Linked DNA regions of Homo sapiens: all the other regions are linked to region 4. Evidence: promoter capture Hi-C in 16 types of primary human blood cells and fetal thymus (Javierre and others, 2016). All regions are on one chromosome and are shown on one strand. Each heading gives the region's core, a stretch centred on a gene start or on the middle of the fragment in contact. The rest is flanking DNA. Distances are from core to core; before and after follow the strand shown.

The links. Contacts are between HindIII fragments. The CHiCAGO score rates a contact against its expected background, and 5 or more counts as called.
Region 1: a fragment that was not itself captured here is called in contact with the fragment with the promoter of OR1N2 in region 4 in 3 of 17 cell types (M1 macrophages, endothelial precursors and megakaryocytes); the score reaches 7.8 in M1 macrophages.
Region 2: a contact is called between a fragment that was not itself captured here and the fragment with the promoter of OR1N2 in region 4, in 2 of 17 cell types (M1 macrophages and endothelial precursors). The highest score is 6.7, in M1 macrophages.
Region 3: a fragment that was not itself captured here is called in contact with the fragment with the promoter of OR1N2 in region 4 in 5 of 17 cell types (endothelial precursors, monocytes, M1 macrophages and 2 more); the score reaches 6.8 in endothelial precursors.

The regions. Positions count from the first base shown.
Region 1 is chr9:122,783,933-122,787,469 of GRCh38, reverse strand. No RefSeq gene overlaps it. Among named protein-coding and RNA genes, the nearest start is that of OR5C1, 3.2 kb to the left of the region's middle. The HindIII fragment of the contact is 2,865 bases long and covers 382-3,246 here.
Region 2 is chr9:122,726,698-122,729,818 of GRCh38, reverse strand. No RefSeq gene overlaps it. Among named protein-coding and RNA genes, the nearest start is that of OR1L4, 4.3 kb to the right of the region's middle. The HindIII fragment of the contact is 2,487 bases long and covers 574-3,060 here.
Region 3 is chr9:122,751,650-122,754,989 of GRCh38, reverse strand. No RefSeq gene overlaps it. Among named protein-coding and RNA genes, the nearest start is that of OR1L6, 11 kb to the right of the region's middle. The HindIII fragment of the contact is 2,066 bases long and covers 433-2,498 here.
Region 4 is chr9:122,551,103-122,554,610 of GRCh38, reverse strand. It overlaps OR1N2 (olfactory receptor family 1 subfamily N member 2), which reads right to left and starts at 1,499. Exons shown (of 1, transcript NM_001004457.2): 1 at 397-1,499. The coding sequence starts at 1,399. The coding sequence ends at 449. It also overlaps a transcript of OR1J2 not described here and a transcript of OR1L8 not described here. The HindIII fragment of the contact is 1,550 bases long and covers 835-2,384 here.

The sequences.
Region 1 (3,537 bases), core at 565-3,064, 230 kb before region 4:
CGAATGGAAATAAATTGAACTGGATGCTCTGGCTCCAAACTGGAAGGAAGCAACTTTATGGCAATCAAAAGTAGTATAATTCCCAGAAAATGCAATGTTGCTTCACACTCCTGTGCCTTGCATTTGTCCTCTTTGCCTGGAACCCATTTCCTCCTTTTGTGTTTGGTAAAAAGTTTCTCCAGTGTGAAGCCTTCCCTGATCTGTCCCTTAAAACTAAACATTTTTCTTGTCTGTGGCCTGCTGCACTGGAGCATACAGTAGTTCCCCCTTATCTATGGGGAATACGTTCCAAGACCCCCTGTGGATGTGTGAAATCACAGATCGTACTGAACCCTATATATGTGATTTTTTTCCCTATACATTCATATCCATGATAAAGCTTAATTTATAAATTAGGCATAGTAAGGGATAACAACAACAATAATAACATAGAACAATTATAACAATGTACTATAATACAAGTTAGGTGAATATGGTCTCTCTCTCTGTCCCTCAAAATATCTTACTTTTATATATATATATATATATATATATTTTTTTTTTTTTTGTTTTGTTTTGTTTTGTTTTGTTTTGTTTTTGTTTTTTTTTTTTTTGAGATGGAGTCTCACTCTGTCACCCAGGCTGGAGTGCAGTGGTGTGATCTCGGCTCACTGCAACCTCCACCTCCTAGGTCCAAGTGATTCTCCTGCCTCAGCCTCCTGAGTGGCTGGGACTACAGGTGTGTGCTACCATGCCCAGCTAATTTTTTTGTATTTTTAGTAGAGATGGGGTTTCACCACATTGGCCAGGTTGGTCTCGAACTCCTGACCTCAGGTGATTCGTCTGTCTCGGCTTCCCAAAGTGTTGGGATTACAGGTGTGAGCCACTGCACCCAGCCTGTTTTTAATAGTTTCGGGTCACAGTTGACTGCAGGTAACTGAAACTGCAGAAAGCAAAACTGTGGGTAAAGGGGAACAACTGCTGTACCTCTCTCATGCTGCTTCACCATTCTATTGCAAATATCTTTTACATGTGTGTCTCCTGTGAACTTTGAGCTCCTTGATTCAATATTCATTCAACAAAGTTTTATTGAGCATTACTGTGTGCTAAGAATGCCCCATAATTCATTTTTGTATCTCCAGGGTGAGGTATATAATCAGAGCTCAAAAAATGTTAGTTGAGTCCATAACACAGTGAACAAGAGTACAGACATTAGCAGCATGAACACTTGCTTTTGAGTCCTAGTTCCACAACTTTCTGGTGTGTAACTTCAGGCAAGTCACTTCACCTCCCTTAACTTTGGTTTTCTCCTTGCAAAGTAGGAATCATAATATCTCTGTGGAGGTTTTTAAGAGGCAATAGGTGTGCAGGAAGGGGCCCGGAGCTGAATAAATTCTTCTTCCCCTCCTTTTAAGAGAAGTTTAGATGTTTGGGACTTACCTGTGCCCAGTGAGGATGGTGAAAATCTCCTACAAAGCACAAATTGGATGAAAAATTTTGACAATATCACGTTGGTGAGGTTGTGCTTGTGGAAATGTAAACTGGGACATTTCCGACCACTGTGCACGCCCCAGTGTCTTAAGCTACTCAGTTTGCTATAACAAAATGCCAATAGACTGGGTGGCTTAAACAACAGACATTTATTTATCATGGTCCTGGAAACTGGGAAGTCTGTGGTTAGCATGTCAGCATGGTTGGGTTCTAGTGAGAGCCCTCCTTCTGGCTTGTAGATGGCCACCTTCCTACTGTATTGTCACAGGTTGGGGACAGAGAGACAGAGAAAGCTCTCTGGTTTCTTATAAGGGTACCAATCCCATTATCATAGATGCCACCATAATGACCTAAATAGTTTTAGACCTAATTACCTCCCAAAGGCTCCTTCTCCAAATACCATCATATTGGGGGTTAGAATTTCAACATGAATTTTTTGGGGATGTAAACATTCAGTCCATAGCACCTGGTAATTCCACTACTTGGTGTTTACTTTTGAAAACCCTCTCATGTATACAGAAGGAGACAAGGGAGCATGCATTCCTGGACTATTTGTAATGGCTAAATAAATGTTAGTCAAACCTAAATGTTTATCAGTAGGCTCATGGGAGTTAAACAGGAATGGAGTCAACCTCTATATAACAATATAGAGAAATCTCAAGAACATATTGAGATCAAAACATAATTTTCAGAAAAAATATACAGATTGATGAAAAAACTCATAACATATGTTTTTTTAATGTATGTGTATATAAGACATACTGCTGTCTGCTCCAAACAGAGATGGGGCTCCAGCTAAAAGACCTGAGGGCATTTCAGAGGATTCCATGGCCTTTGCCCCCTGCTATGTCAGAGCTGATCCTTCTTATCTTTTAAGATTCAGCTTAGGGGTCATCTTTATCTGAGCACCCAACTGCCCATCCTCTCATGCTGGAACTCCACTCACCAGTCTCTCTGCATCATATCATTATTCCATTGTTGTATAATTACCTACATGCTTATCTCCTCTCACCTGATCAAGCATCTTAAGATCTGGGACTGTGCTTAATTCACCCCTCTGTCCATAGGCATACAGGATTTTAGGTATCTTCCTCCTTCTCCTTGGTGTGTCACTGGTGGAGGTCAGACAGCTTCCAGGGGTACAGAAACAGGGAGTTCCAGTTCTACTCAACTACCTGTTCTCCAAGAATGAAGTCTGCTACCTGGCCGAAGTTCTGCACACAGAACCCAGTGGGTGGCCAACCCCTTTGTATTTCAGTCTGTCCACATGGAAAGCAAATGCAACTCACCTTTACCGAGTGAGGAGCAGAGGTGCTTTGAGTGCCTCTCCATTTCTCCATCTGTAAAATAGGGACAACGAGACTTCAGGACTTTTAAGGTACTTTGAATGTTTTGGGTACAAGTACCCACAAACTTCAGTTAAGTAGGTATTGTGGAGTGTGTGTGTTTGCACACACAAAACATAGAATTAATTCTCCATTAACGTCTCTCTCTCTCGCCTCACTACCCAGGAGGAGCAATATTGACGTTCTAGGGTTGTGTACGTCAGTGTGGGACTTGCTAATAAAAGAGGAGGACTCAGGTTTTCATAAGGAGCAACTTCTGCGTTTGCTCTTCGGTGCTAATCAGTGCTAGAAAGGATCTGGAAAACTTCAGGTTCCTGCACTTTTAGGTTCCCGGTTGCCTCTAGTTGACTCTCTTGTCTTTTCAAATCCTTCCAACATTCCTACTTCTGTCTGACTCCGTATTTATCTTTCAGTCCCTGGGATTAAAGCTTATGAAGTCTGTCTATGTATATATTTATGTATGCATGTATGTATGTATGTATTTATCAATCTATCAATCACTTAAATATCAATCCATTTTTAATTATATACTCAACAAGCATTTTTTAACTACCTGTTATGGGACAGGCACTCTATGAGCACAAGGGATACAGATGTCACTATAACACATCTGTTACTGCTCTCACAGAACTTTCAGGCTGGTGGGAAGAGAGAGCTCTCAATCAAATAACCACACACATACAATTACAAACTAACATATATATGATCTGAAGGAGAGGAA
Region 2 (3,121 bases), core at 568-3,067, 170 kb before region 4:
GGCTACTTAGAGGGATTAAAAAATCTAAGCTGCCCTCCAAGGTCTAACAATCATATAATTAGAGCCCCACAAAGAGAGGAGAGAGTTTGGGGCAAAATGATATTTGAATAAACATTGGACTAAATTTTTCCAAATGTGAAGAAAAATATCTTTCCAAGATCCAAGAAGCTCAATAAACCCCAAGCCAGATAAACATAAATAATTCCATATACAGCTGAGCTATAGTCAAATTGTTAAAAACCAAAAATAAAATCAGCCAGGACAAAAAAACAATTTACCTAAGAGGGAAACAAAGATAAAAATGATAGCTGATTTCTCTTTAGAAGCAATGCAAGCCACAAAACAATAGAACAACATTGACACAAATTATAATCACTGTCTCCAGATTCTCACCTCCATTTATTCCTTAACATATTCCAATCTGGCTCCTTTTCCATTTCTCCATTGCCAATTCACCAAGGGCATCAATGACCACCATATCATTAAAGCCAATGAACAATCTTCAGGCTTACTTTGCTTATTAAACTTTCATCATATTTGGTCACTTATTAATAGCCCCTGCCTCTTGAAGCTTCCTCTTTTCTTGGATTCTGTGACTATTCCTATTAAGTCCCCCTCAATAATATATTCTCTATCAAACTTTTCAATGCCAGAAATACTTTTTATTCTTCTCTCACATTCTCCTCAGAACTCATGCTACACAGTGTTCCTAGTTGATATCATTTGCTCTAATAGACAGGCAACATATGTTCAATGAGCTGGATTTTTTTTTTAGTTCAGTATTGAGCAAAATCTCTAATATTTATGTTTTTGAAATGAACTTGCACTAAAAGGACTCAATACATTTATAATTCTTTTAACAAAGGACAGGCTTATAGTATTATTATTCTATTGTATTCTAGCATTCCACCTGATGTGGCAAGATGCTCAGAGGTCTGCGTAGACCCTTCTTCTGATTATATCTACCTTCAAGAAAGATTTTTTTTTCCTCTTACTGATGCTTATTAGCACATTTCTGAGTTAACATCTGGGCTCTCATGTTTGAAAAGAAAAAATCTTATTAAAGTCTTCAGATGCTTCTTACCCACTGACAGTCCCTTATTGTGACTTGGGGAAACTGGCATCATATCCTGACAGAGAATCCTCCAATTCCAACTGAGAAGTTTAGGATTTACCAAAGGGGTAGACTGGAAACTTTTTTTATCCCAAAGTGCTATCTCATGGTCACTTGTTATTTAGAATTTCTTTTAGTTTGAATTTCTGGGAATATCTTAAAGTTTTTCATTAAAAAAAATCGTGATTTTTTTTAGTGGCCATGCACTTGTTGAGGAAAAAAAGTCAGGCCGATCTCAGAACTGAAAAATAAAAGTTATGATTCTTGGGGTCAAAGGGCTTAATTAGCTTTAAAAATTATTGTAGGCTGTAATTAGTGAATTTATTTATTAATATATGCCAGGAATTCTCACATTCTAAAGTTGCTATGGCACTTAGTTGAGTATGAGAAAACTATGACATATAAATAAAGGAAATAGAAAGTAAATATGTCTTCTAGGCCAGCATCTCAAAATCAAGTGATTGGTGGGAGATAGTGGTAAAAGTCAGGTGTGCTTAAACGAATACAGAGGCTACTGCAAATTAGCTTTTCTGGCTTGCTGGTTACTTCCTTATAATTAGGAGGATTTAGTGAAAAGGGTGACAGGAATGGAACCCTGATGTTGTAGGCTAGGTGTCCCTGTGTTCCATAAGACCGTTACACACCTCTTGCTATATCTTTAAGGCCAAAAGACTTGTATTCAACTTCAAGTCCTGCCATTAACAAGCCTGCGACCCAGAAAAGCTGGTGGTTGTGAAAACTTGCTGAAATAATTGAGGCAGAAATTTTCCTACATGACTATTTTTATTGACAATAACATCATTAGGGAGGATTAATAAAGCACCTGATGTACATTGATATGTTTGTGTGTTAATAGAGCTATGTAGCAGTCATTAATGCTATTCATCAAATACTTCTGCCTCTCCATCTTAGAGGCACCTGGTTGGATTGTGCCTTCTGGCTCCCTTGTGTTTGAGTGGGGTCATGGGATGTGTTTTGGACGATAAGTTATGGTCAGAAGTGGCGTGGGTCACTTCTGGACTAGAATATTTAGTTGGCAATGTAAAATCTTCCAGTGTCTTTCTCAGCTTCTGACAGAATGATGATCAATGTTCACAGTGGTGCCTGATCTACCATTTTGGACCCCTGATTGGTTAAAATGAGCAGCATCCTTATATTTTTCTATGGTGGATGTTTAGGGAAAATTATAATAACCTTTAGTTTTAAGATCCAACTGGAGATTGTTTATTTCCACAGTATATCCTAGCTTATCCTGACTGACAAACATGGCTTTTTCTAAGATATAAAGGGTAGCTTAGTGAGGATGCTGGACATAAGAACAGAGGAATTAAAAAGGAATGGGATCACTCAGCCCTGGAATTTGAGGTACAGTGAGCTATGATTGTGTCACTGTACTCCAGCTTGGGTGACAGAGTGAGACCCTGTCTCTTAAAAAACAGAAGGGAACCAGCCTGGCCAACATGGCAAAACCCCATCTCTACTGAAAGTACAAAACTTAGCTGGGCATGGTGGCACATGCCTGTAATTCCAGCTACTAGGGAGGCTGAGGCAGGAGAATTGTTTGAACCCAGTGGGCAGAGTTTGCAGTGAGCTGAGATCTCATCACTGCAATCTAGACTAGGCATCAGAGCAAGACTCCATCTCAAAAAAAAAAAAAAAAAAAAAGAGGGAAAAGGGGTAGGGTACTGAGAACTCATACTGTCATGACACTTTGGTGTTGGGGGGTGGAGTAAATATTCTTTTTGGATCATTCTATCTGTTCGATTGGATTGTCCTTACCCTCAAACTGAATAAGACTCACAGGGTTTTTCAGTGTTTCTAAAAAATATTCCAAAATGTATTGCCTCTGTGTGCTTGGCTGGTTTTTACTATGTGAAATGCGTTGGCCATTTCCTCATCCTTTGGAACTTCCTTTGTCAAAATTCAGTCTATTTTAAGGATAAGCTTATGTCACTTTTCCAAAAAGTTCTTTCCAATTTCCTACCAAATCCATGTGGTTTCCACTTC
Region 3 (3,340 bases), core at 216-2,715, 200 kb before region 4:
CCATTCTCACCTTCACTCATTCCTTAACACATCACAATCTGGCTCGTTTTCCATTTCTCCATTGCACATTCACCAAAGTTATGAATCACCACCATGTCACTAAAGCCAATGGACAACCTTCAGCCTTATTTTGTTAAACTGTCATCATATTTTGATACCAGTTAATGGCTCCTGCCTCTTCAAATTTACTCTTCTCTTGAATTCTATGACTACTCCTTTTAATTCCTCTTTGATAATGTTTTCTCTATTAGATTCTTCAATGCCAGAAATACTCTGCCCTCTTCCCTACTTTTTTCTTGGGTCTCATGCTACACACTCTTCCTAATTGTCATCACTTACTCTGATAAACAGGTAAAATATGTTCAGTGAACTGAATTCCCCTTATTTCAGTATTGAGCTAAATCTCAAATATTTGTATATATGTAATAAGCTTACATTGGAAAAACCCAATACATTTTTTTAAACTTTTTGTGTTTTGTCAACAAATGAGAGACCTATGGTATTATTTCTCTATTGTATTCAGCCAGCCTTCTGGATACCAATATGGTGAAACAAGGAGCTGGCAAGGAGATTCCTTGTCTACTCTCAAGGACTATGTAGCAGCATTTGAGACAATGTGACAAGATGTCCAGAGGCCTGTTGAAATCCCTCCCTGTGATTATATCTACCTTCATAATCTATTTATTTCCTCTTACTCATGCTTATTAGTGACTTTCTAGGTTGACTTCTGGACTCTCTTGATTGGACAGCAAAAATCTTACTACACTTTGTAGATACTCCTTGCTCATGGCAGTTCTTTCCTTCTGAAGAGTGACAGGATGTCTTGTGGGAAGTAGCTTCATATTTTGACAGAGAAAACACTCCAGCTCTGACTGAGAAGTTTAGGACTTACCTGAGGGTCAGAGTAGGAACTCTTTCATCCCAAAGTGCACTCTCGTGGTTAATTGTTATCTAGAATTTCCTTTTCTTTACACTTTTGGTAATATCTCTAGGATTATTCATAAAACATCTTTTATGATTTTTTTTTGCCATGCATTTGTTGAGAAAAAGAAGTCTGGGGCTGATGGCAATGTGAGATCAGAAATATCCATCTGACAAAGGTCAAATATCCAGAATCTACAAGGAACTTAAAAAATTTACAAGAAAAAAATAAACAACCCCATTAAAAAGTGGGCAAAAGACATAAACAGACACTTCTCAAAAGAAGACATTTACGCGGCCAACAAACATGAAAGAAAGCTCAACATCACGGTCATTAGAGAAATGCAAATCATAACCACCATGAGATACCATCTCATGACAGTCAGAATGGTGATTATTAAAAAGTCAAGAAACAACAGATGCTGGTGAGACTGGAGAAATAGGAACACTTTTATACTGTTGGTGGGAATGTAAATTAGTTCAACTATTGTGGAAGATAGTGTGCCAATTCCTCAAAGACCTAGAACCACAAATACCATTCAACCCAGCAGTGCCATTACTGGATATATACCCAAAGGAATATAAATTATTCTATTATAAAGATACATGCACACGTATGTTCATTGCAGCACTATTCACAATAGCAAAGACATGGTATCAACCCAAATGTCCATCAATGATACACTGCATAAAGAAAATGTGGTACATATACACCATGGAATACTATGAAGTTATAAAAAGGAACAAGATCATGTCCTTTGCAGGGACATGGATGGAGCTGGAATCTATTATCCTCAGCAAACTAACACAAGAACAGAAAACTGAACTCTGCATATTCTCACTTACAAGTGGGAGCTGAACAACGAGAAAACATGGACAGAGGGAGGGGAACAACCCACACTGCGGTCTGGGTGGGAGTGGGGAGGGAGAGCATCAGGATAAATAGCTAATGCATATGGGGCTTAATACCTAGGTGATGGGTTGATAGGTGCAGGAAACCACCATAGCACACGTTTACCCATGTAACAAACCTACACGTCCTGCACATGTATCCTGGAATTTAAAATAAGTTAAAAAAAAAAAAGTAAGTTAGTGTTCTCAGGACTAAAGAACTTAATTGGATTTATAAGTTAATGGTGGCATAATTAATGAATTTGTTTATTTAATGTATATGTAATATACATATAATTTATGAATAGATTTATTTAATATAGATATTCCTAACATTCTGAAGTAGCTAATTGAACTTGGTTGAGCATGAGAAAACTATGGCACATAAATTGAGTAAGTGGAAATGGTACATATCTTCTAGGCCAGCATCCCACAAACCAAATGATCAGTGAGAGATAGTGGTGAAAACCAGGTGTGCCTGTACAAACACGAAGGTTATTGCTTTGGGTTTCTTTCCTGGCTTTCTGGTTACTCCCTTATAATTAGGAGCACGTAGTGAAAGCACTAGCAGGGACCTTGATGTCGGAACCTAGGTGTCCCTGTATTTCCTTGGACACCATTCACCTCTTACTAAATCTTTAAGGCCAAAAAACTTGTATTCAGCGTCAGGTCCTGCCACACAAGCTTGTGACCTAGAAAAGCTGATGGTTGTGGGAACTTGATGAAATAATTGAAGCAGAAAAATCCCAGACAGTGTGTAAGTGTTACATTACTATTGTTATTGACAATAACACAATCCAGGAGAACTGATGAAGCAACTAATTCACACTGATGTGTTTGTATGTTAATATAGTTGGGTAGTAGTAATGAATGCGGTTTATCAAATACTTCTGGCTTTCTAAAATCTTAGAGGGACATAGTTGGATTGTGCCTCCTGGCTGCCTTGCGTTTGGGTGGGGTCATGAGAGGTGTTTTAGACAATAAGTTATGGTCATAAGAGGTGAGGGTCACTTCTGGGCCAGAGTTTTTAACTGCCAGTGTGAAACCTCCAAGAGCCTTTCTCAGCTTCTGGCAGAGTGATGATTAATGTTTTCAGTGGTGACTGCTCCACGATCTTGGGTCTCTGCATGTTGAAAATAAGTAGCACACTTACACTTTTCTATGGTGGACCTACAATGTGAATGAGAAATAAACCTTTGGTTTTAAGGTCCTAAGACTTTGAGGTTGATTGTTTCCATAGCACAACCGAGCTTTTTCCTAACTGATACATTAGCTTTTTCTAGGATACAAAATGCAGCTTGGTGAGGATGCTGGATGTATGAAGGGAAGAATTAAGAGGGAAGGGAAAAGAAATCGGGTACTGAGCCTTCACACTGTCATGAAACTTAAGTGTTGGTGGGGGGGAGAATAAATGCATTTTGTAGATTCTTCTATCTTTCCAGCCGTATTCTCCTTTCTCTCAAACTGATGAAGCCTCAGCTTTTCATTGTCCCTCAAACACATTGCAGTGCTTATTGTCTCCACATGC
Region 4 (3,508 bases), core at 250-2,749:
TAATTCACAGTTTTCACAATTCTACCTAAAGTAACTGATGTAAGGAATAATGAGGAACATTGTGGATAGTCAATAAATGTTTCTATTCTCCTTCCTTCACCTCATCCCATGCCTGCCTTGCTGGGGTAGAATTGCTCAGCTCCAGAGCCTCATAACAAATGCCTTGTTCACTATGGCTAATATGCTGGTTTTAGAGATGTGAGGAGGAATAGTAGTTTTGCTGTTAGTAATGGTTGCCTCACTGGGGTCAGGAAAGAGGCTGAGACAGAACATCTCATTCCACAGCCTAATAAAAGAATGAAACACTCTTTTTTTTTTTTTTACATCCCTAACTCAGAGTCAACGGATAACCTTCCCCTAATATCAACATGACAGTAGTAGAATTACTGAAGTGATGGAAGACAGGGAGGGGTTGATCAAGATTAGACATCACCGTCTAGATGTCTAATCATAAAAAGAATGTTTTTCCACTGACAAAAAGTTTACCCAAAGCCTCCTTCATGTCTCTGTTCCTCAAGCTATAAATGAATGGGTTTAGCGTGGGAATAATCACCATATAGAGAACAGCAGCCCTACTTTCCCTCTCTGTAGAGTAAGTTGATGGAGGAAGTAAATACACACCCATAAGAGACCCATAGAAGAGCAGAACCACCGTGAGATGAGAACCACAGGTAGAGAAGGCCTTCCATCTCCCTCCAGGAGATGAGATGACAAACACAGCCCAGAAAATGCGGACATAGGAGAAGACGATCAGCAGGAGGGGAACAGTGAGGAACAGCAAGCCCATGGTGATGATCATCAGCTCGTTTACATGGGTATCTGAGCAGGCAAGCTTCAGGAGAGCACTAGGATCACAATAGAAATGAGGGATGGCTTTCTGGGCACAGAAAGCCACGCGGGTCAGCAACAGTGTGTGCATCAGGGCAGGACAGTTGGTTAGCACCCAGCACACACCCAGCATTAGTGCACAGAGCTGGGGACTCATAGATGTGCTGTAATGGAGTGGTTGGCAGATGGCCACATAGCGGTCATATGCCATCACAGCCAGCAGGCAGTTGTCAAGGCCACCAAACATAAGGAGGAAATATAGCTGTGCAAGACACCCAGAATACGAGATGATCTGACTCTGGGTATGAATGTTGGCCAGCATTTTGGGGATGGAGGCAGAAGTGAAACAGGCATCAGTTAATGACAGGTTGGCCAGAAAGAAGTACATGGGAGTATGGAGGTGTGGGTCAGAGCTGATGGCCAGGATAATGAGCAGGTTCCCCACCATGGTGACCAGGTACATGCCAAGGAAGATGCCAAACAGAAGAGGCTGCTCCTCTGGCCACTCAGAGAGTCCTAGAAGGAGGAAGTCTGAAACAGTGGTTTGGTTCACTCTGCCTGGTTTTCCCATCCCTTGTAGTTCGTGTGATCTGCGCAGATAAAAACCTTCCATGTGTCAGTATTTATTTATTAGATCAATTTACAGATATGCATCTGTGTGGCCAGAACTGTGCTGGGAGAAAAAGAAAAGAAAAATAAATGGTCTTTGCCAATAAGAATCTCTGAATCTCACTGGGAATGCAAGGAAATACCCAAGAGACATTTAGAGAACAGTTAAGATAATATCCATTCAAATCTCAATTGTGCTTTGTATGCTATAGCAGAATCCAAAGAAAAGAGATTTGTTTGACCAGAGAAATTGGCATGGGCTATTTAGAGGAAGTGAGAATTGAGAATAGCTTGATGGCAAGATTAGAAAAGCCATTTGTTATTGTCAATTGGAAAGAAGATGCATGATCTCCATCAAACTCCTACCCCTCCTCCAACACACACACACACACACACACACACACACACACACACACACACACACTCAAGCCCTCTTTGTGGGGGCTGAAATTGACTTTTAAGACAAGATAGCTTCCTCCCCACTTGCCTTTCAGTGCTGAGAATTTGACCTCACCCATTCAAACCAGTCCTGTACTCTTTCCTAACTAGCGGCAAAGGATATGTGAGCTGAGGGCAGTAGGTGTCTGGTGTCGTACTCCCCCATCCACTGTTAGGATGTTCCCTCCCACACACACGCATACAAATAGGACAGGGAGCCACTCTCTCCCTTCCATCACTTCCTCTCCTTTATCCCTGTCCTCTTCCCTTTTTTGCTGCTATGCATCTCTATCTGCTCTGGGAACTGATATTTTAGTTCACCTGTGCCTTCACCCCTACATTTGTACTACATTTATCTAATATTTACTTTTAACCAGAGGGAGGGAAGGTGAAAGGTATCGCCCTGACTTTTTGGTTTGAAAATAACCAGTCTGTTTTTTTGCTGCCCTAGTGAGCTGGTAGGAGAAACCATTTCATATTGATCTTGTAGAAGTTTGGCCTTAGAAGCTTTTGTAACTATTTTAGTCCTCCATTTGTTCTTTGGTTCATAGAGAAGCTTCTGACCTTAGGCAGAGACTCAGCACTTTCCCAGGAAACTTTTGCCTGGTCACCTGATCATCGAACTGGGAAGGAAGGTGTATATGTGTGTGTGTGTGAGAGAGAGAGAGAGAGAGAGAGTGTATGTGTGTGTGTGTGTGTATGTGTCCTACCCCTTCCAAATCCTCACCTGTCAGATTATGGATCAGTTTTAGGCATCTTCAAATTCTCCAATTCTCTTCCTTGGATGGATAATTCATAATAAAAAACTCTGAGACCTTTCTGACTCAGAGGCAATAAAGTCGGGGTCTATTGAGTCCAGAGTTTATTAGAAATACCTGAAGTGTATGGCTCGATTTCAGCTTCCCCGGGCATAAGAAGACAGGAATATCTCTTAAGGTTATAAAGGCTCCTAGAACACCATCTCCCAATGTGCTCGTTAAGGTCGACCTCGGTGTCATTGTGCAGCCTGTTCTCCAGCCAACTCTGGCTGGATCCTAGGGGAGCTGAGGACCTCTCTTTCCCAGGGGTTAAGATCTCAAATGTGGGTCTCGGGAATGTGATTCTGAAGCCTCTTGCTGGCAATGCAGTGTACTTCAGCCTGACTAGCAGGTCACCTGGGAACTCCTGCCTATATGCATTAGGCAAGTCAGCACTTGTCCCATGTCCTAGGTAAAACTGCATTGAAGAAGAAATCAGGAGTATAAACTAAAACACAACTATTTCTGCTGGCGATTTCCTTAAAGAGAATAATCCTGATGGAAACAATACCCTCAAAAACTCCAAAACTCAATTAATGAGGCAACCTAAATAAAGCACACCAGCCATAGTGCCTCATACAAAGCAGCTGCTCAAAAAAAGCTACTTATATCTACTGTATTTTAATTAATTCTATTAAGTGGAGAGAGTGGAATCCCCACCTAGGTCTGTAATGACTCTGGAGTACATGCTATTATCCACTATGCTTTGTTCTAGTATCATTGTTGGTTTCAATCATAAGCAATTTCATAGGTCTAAAATAATCCAACTTTTTGTAGCTATTGTAAATGGGATTGAGGTCTTGATTTGGTTCTCAGCTTGATTGTTATTAGTGTGT